Linked DNA regions of Homo sapiens: region 2 is linked to region 1. The links are contacts of gene promoters, found by promoter capture Hi-C in blood cells and fetal thymus (Javierre and others, 2016). All regions are on one chromosome and are shown on one strand. Each heading gives the region's core, a stretch centred on a gene start or on the middle of the fragment in contact. The rest is flanking DNA. Distances are from core to core; before and after follow the strand shown. Region 1 holds the start of DMRT2 (doublesex and mab-3 related transcription factor 2). Region 2 overlaps DMRT1 (doublesex and mab-3 related transcription factor 1).

Region 1 (2,500 bases), core at 1-2,500:
TGCCTGGTCACCGGGGAGGAACTTTACAACATCACTGAAGGTTTGAGAATAGTGCTTCTGGCTGGTCGCGGTAGTTCCTAAGCTGCCTTTGTTCCCACTTCTCTGATCCAGGTTAACTTTTAACATTCTGACAAACTCGGACAAAAGTAACGTTGGGATTACGTCAGGAATTCCCACCCTTCAACAAATATTTGTTGCGGGCCTACTATGTACTCAGTGCAATGATACCCAATTTTGTAGTCTCCTAAACAGATCCTACTCGAGAGGTCTTGATTATTTACAGATGCAGTTAGAAAAGCGCCCATATTATTTTTAATTGAGTTCAAGAAATAGAATGCAGCGTTGAATTAGAAGACTAATTCCTTCTTTTAATATGTTGAAAATTTTTTATCGTTAAACATTTTGTAAAGGATTTTTTGAGGGAGTCGTTAGAAAGTCTATAAATACAACTACGCACACTAAAAAGTAGTCATCTTTTTAAAAATAACTTTGTTTAAATGCATGCTTAGTGTGAATGGATTTACCTAATTCTCTTAATAGCATGCATTTCTGATCTTCCCTACATTAACTGTAATAGCAACTGATATAACAGAAAAATGTAAGTGACTTGTAGTCGACTTGGCCACCTGCCACACGGGCTCGGTGAAGGTTAATGAGGAGCTATTTGGCACTTCGAGAATAGGTGGCACTAGACACAGAAATATCAACAGGCTATTTGTATGCTAACTAGGAGTTTCGGTGCCAGGTAACCATTGATGTACTCTTGCAGGAGAAAGAAGGATGTCGCTGTACGCCCCGAAAGAGAGGCATCATTTTTACGCCCAGTTTGGATTAATGATTGATTGAGTCGCAGAAATGCTTGTGATGCTGATAGAGGCCAATACTGGTCTTTCTGATCTCTTCCTCGTCGTTTATTACCTTCTCTTGTGGACAACGCATTCCTAAGAATGTATCTCTGCTTGTTTCCCAGTCCGCGAGATAAATGGTGACTTCTCTCTTGCAGGCACCGTCATACCTCGGGTTTAGATTCTGGACAGGCGAGCCGGCTGCACCGAAGGCCCGGTAGGCGGACTCTGGCGGAGCGCTTCAGAGAGAAGAGTGTAGACCGCGGGAGGCGGAGGGCTCCCTGCCAGCGTGCCTCGGCCAATCAGTATTCACACCGCCTGACAACCGGCCAATCAGAGGACGTAAAGCTCCGGGGCCTGAGCGGACAGTACTAGGAAGGGGAGCGCAGTCTGCAGACTGAAGCCAGTGGCGCTGCGCTGAATGCAACTGCGCGCGCCCGCCGGGTGAGCCAGCGATCTGAGCCAGGCGGGGGCGGCCCGACCTTTCCCGCCCAGCCTGGGTCAGAGGAAGCCGAAAGCGGCCTCAGCAAGGTGAGGCGCCCGAGGCTGCAGAAGACCGAGCAGAACTTTGCAGAGTTCGGGATGTGCTGGGCTAGGTCGCTGAGGACTTGACTGGCTTCCTCCCTCCTTCCCTCCACCTACCTTCTCCCTCCCCCTCCACCATCCAGTGGGTTCGTTCCGGGCCTCCAGCTATCAGCTCCCGATCTCGTGTTTGAGGGTAGCGACCCCGATTTCTGTTTGCATGCACAGCCAGCAGCCCTAGCGCCAGATCCTAAAGCTGGATATCTTTTAACTGGGCTACCAGCCCGGGCCTCAAAGTTTTGGTGAGTGCTGTGATGCCGCTCGGGGTGTCAGGGAGGGCAAAGGGCGTGAATCATCTTTCACCTTTTCTGTGTGACTTGGATGCCTTACCTTAAATATATAAACCAAGGCCTAAGTACAGAGAGCCCACGCGGCTCAGCCCTGTGCACCTCAGGTACTATTAAGGCTGGACGGGCGTCTGTATTGTGCTCTTTGCCCTTATGGGACGCTAATGACAACAAAATTTTGGTTTTCAGTTGAGTATTTTGGGGAGGGGGGTGAGAGGACCTCTTCAAGCCCAAGGAGGGGTCCTTGTGGTGGTGTAGGCTGATGAGAGGCATTTGGGAAGCATAGAGTGGTACTTCAGTGAGTCTGAAGGGCCACTTGTAATCAAAGGAAAACTGTTCTTCCACGGATAGTTTTATATGCATCATGGCCATACTAGTTGAGTATGGGGAAATCCGACAAGTGGCCTGGGGCTGCCTATTTGGACACAATATTTTGTGTGTGTGTGATAAGTGAGTTACCCAGGGACTTGTCCGGAAAGCCCGTGTAAAGCCAGAGAGGGCCACGGTTAAAGGTCAGGTACTCACAGAGCACTTAGAATTAATAAAATAAAACCTTTGTTGGGTTGTGGATCCCTGGGGGCCCTGGAGATACAGGAAAGGCACGTGTGGCCTGGAAGTGAGGGACATGTAATGAGAACAGGATGACTCAAGCGGCCGGAGGCGGGCAGACCAGGAGCTTTGGGCCGGAGGCTCAGGGATGGTCCCTGACGGCGGCCGGTGGGTCTTTGGATTTCTTTGTGTTTCCCCAGAGTGAGGGCCGCCAGGCTCAGGCCCCAGCGAAGCCCC
Region 2 (3,217 bases), core at 395-2,894, 160 kb before region 1:
TGCTGCTAGCTTTCTGTTATTATTCATTAAGCAATTTTGGCCAATTATCATTCTAGAAAAATAGAGAGTGAGATCTAGCTTAAGAATTTTCAGCAGACTCATTAAAATGTTTCCCTTCAATATACTTCTGTGGTTGCTGTACTTAGTTGTATTGGCCATGCAGTTTTAAAAGTCCGTGTTACAGTGCACACAAGCCATGGAGACTGGCAGGAGTAATTCATACTCAGATCAAGGGACTTGATAAACATTGGTGCATTCAGCTCAGGTTCATGGAGCCAACTGTGTTTTTTTGTTTGTTTGTTTTTTATTTTTGAGCGGAGTCTCGCTCTGTCACCCAGGCTGCAGTGCAATGGTGCGATCTCGGCTCACTGCAACCTCCGCCTCCTGGGTTCAAGCGATTCTCCTGCCTCAGCCTTCTGAGTAGCTGGGACTACAGGCACGGGCCAGATACACGCCCGGCTAGTTTTTCTGTTTTTTGAGATGGGGTTTTGCCATGTTGGCCAGGTTGGTCCCAAACTCCTGACCTCAAGTGATCCACCCGCCGCAGCCTCCCAAAGTGTTGGGATTACACGCGTGAGCCACCGTGTACGGCCAAACTGTCACTTCTTACTGTGACTTTTTTTTTTCCTGTGGCTCAGAGTGGGAATGGATATGGTTGGGGGAGCTTATTAATTGTATGTGGAAAACCACTTTTTGAAAACTTTATGTATATATAAATATATACATATTTTAAATTTTGTATGATAAATTTGTGTGTTTTGTGGCGTATCAGTTGGAAATATTACTTTTAGGTTTATCATCAATTAATAGGGACACTTAGGCTGGCCTGCCATCTTTGCTGACACCCCAGTGTTGAAGCAAATATTGCTGGCTTCTCTCTGGGGAGTTTGCTGTAGCATGGGCTGGACAGATGGTAGGTATACTCTGCTTATGCTTATCCTCTGTCAGTCTGGGCAAGGAATCGGATATTCCTTCTGAAGCTGCTTATTCTATGATCACTCAGCAGTTGAACAAGCATCAAAAGGGAATCTGGATTGCTTTCCTGGTCTCTGGATGACAGATATTAACAATGTAATTTATTAGCTGGGCGTGGTGGCGGGAGCCTATAATCTCAGCTACTCCAGAGGCTGAGGCAGGAGAATCACTTGAACCTGGGAGGCGGAGGTTGCAGTGAGCCGAGATCAGGAGATCACGCCACTGCACTCCAGCCTGGGAAACAATGTGAGACTGTCTCTCAAACAAACAAACAATGTAACTTAGTTGTTTGGAGGGAATTCATAGAAAAGGAGATCTGCCAGTGATTTTCATGAAGTTCCTTCCTTTACTACGGCCTCCTTGTGCAAGCTTAAAGTGACTTCTTGCCTGGAGTATTTAAAGCACCTAGTCTATTCCCCCATCTCCTTATTCTCTTAGGTCTGTTTTTTGTGCTTTGACCAGATTCCCAAATATATTTCTGCTACTCCCTTGCTCTGAAAACCTTCATTGGTTCCCTAGAGGAGAACTTGTTGGCCTGGCATTCACATTCAGGGTCTTCAGCAATTAACTCCAGCATAACCTTCCATTCTCATTTGCAGTTGTCACTTGTGAACTCTGCAGTCCAGCCAGGCTCATCTGGTCACTGTGGCTGGAGCGCGTCTTGTCCTTTCTCTCCTTTGGGCCTCTGTTGACCTCCCTCATGACTCTATTGGTATTATTCTCCTTTTTTTGAGTGTTTACCCACTGTCTCTAAATCACCTCCACTCTGGCTCATCACTCACCGTGGCCTTTTCTGACACCTCTCTATATAGAACCATTTGGTGACATTATCTATACTGTCACTGCGGCACTTGGATTATTGCTTTGTAGATTTCCCAGTTTGCACCTAATTTCCCCAAATAGATGGCAAATTCTTAAGAAAAAATGTAATGTTTAAAGTATGTTTTTGTGCCTTTGACAACATTTAAAGAAAGCTTTGAACATAGTTGTTATATGATAACTAGTGAATGAATCAAATCTAAATATAAAAATACAACTTAAGGTCAAGAATAAATGATTTTTGTAACACCTGCTCCTCTGGATTACCCAGAAGTCTTCTGAAGAATATTAAATTTTGACTCTGCAATGTTTTGTATCTAACTGAATGCCTGACAAATAGTAGGTGCTTAATAAATATTTGTCAACTGGAATAAGCATTTGAATAGATGAATTAAGTTACTGTGGTTAGAATAAATGAAGAAAGTCTGGATGTAAGCCATGAAACTCACAACCATTTGGCAGCGATACACACACAGTACATACAGCTTGGGATCTAAGCTCTGAGTGATTTAGGTAGAAGCCTAGCTTTTCAATACAATGGAATTCTTTTTTTTTTTTTTTCCTTTTGAGACAGAGTCTTGCCCCTTTGCCCAGGCTGGAGTGCAGTGGTGCGATCTCGGCTCACTGCACCCTCTGCCTCCCAGGCTAAAGTGATTCTCCTTCCTCAGCCTCCCTTAGTGGCTGGGACTACAGGCATGCACCACCATGCCCAGCCAATTTTTATATGTTTTGTAGAGGGGTTTTGTTTGCCCAGGTTGGTCTCGAACTCCTGGGCTCAAGTGAACCTTGTACCTCGGCCTCCCAAAGTGCTGGGATTATAGCCAGGAGCCACTGTGCCTGACCTCATTTGTTGTATACTTTTATTTAATAGTCAGGACTGTCACAGCGATGCAGTCAGGGGCATGAAGGTATCTCATATTTTTAGGAATAGCGTGTGGAGCAGTTGTTAATAGTCAGGACTGTCACAGCGATGCAGTCAGGGGCATGAAGGTATCTCATATTTTTAGGAATAGCGTGTGGAGCAGTTGCTTTGAATTTTGAGAGTACAGCCGTGTGTCTCAACAGTTTTAGCACATCAGAATCTCCTGGGCTGGATGCAGTGGCTCACACCTATAATCCCAGCACTTTGGGAGGGTAAGGCAGGAGGATATCTTGAGCCCAGGAGTTTGAGACCAGCCTAGGCAACATGGTGAGACCCCATCTGTATTAAAAAAAAAAAAAAAGAATTTCTGGAGAGCTTAGTAAAATTCAGATTGCTGGGCGCCATTCTCGGGGTGTATGATTTTGTCAGTCTGTGGTGGGGCCCAAGAATTTGCATTTCTTTACGTTCCCAGGTAATGCTGATGCTACTGATTCAGGGACCACACTGTGCGAACCATTGGATTAGACACATGTAGCTTGACAGATATTAATTTCAACCTTT

Evidence for each region. Contacts are between HindIII fragments. The CHiCAGO score rates a contact against its expected background, and 5 or more counts as called.
Region 2: a fragment that was not itself captured here is called in contact with the fragment with the promoter of DMRT2 in region 1 in 1 of 17 cell types (monocytes); the score reaches 6.1 in monocytes.

Annotation. Positions count from the first base shown.
Region 1 is chr9:1,049,107-1,051,606 of GRCh38, forward strand. It overlaps DMRT2 (doublesex and mab-3 related transcription factor 2), which reads left to right and starts at 1,251. Exons shown (of 4, transcript NM_181872.6): 1 at 1,251-1,669; 2 at 2,464-2,500. RefSeq lists an enhancer at 1,023-1,892. The HindIII fragment of the contact is 13,820 bases long and covers 1-2,500 here.
Region 2 is chr9:885,963-889,179 of GRCh38, forward strand. The region is part of intron 2 of DMRT1 (doublesex and mab-3 related transcription factor 1); the gene reads left to right. Among named protein-coding and RNA genes, the nearest start is that of DMRT1, 46 kb to the left of the region's middle. The HindIII fragment of the contact is 605 bases long and covers 1,343-1,947 here.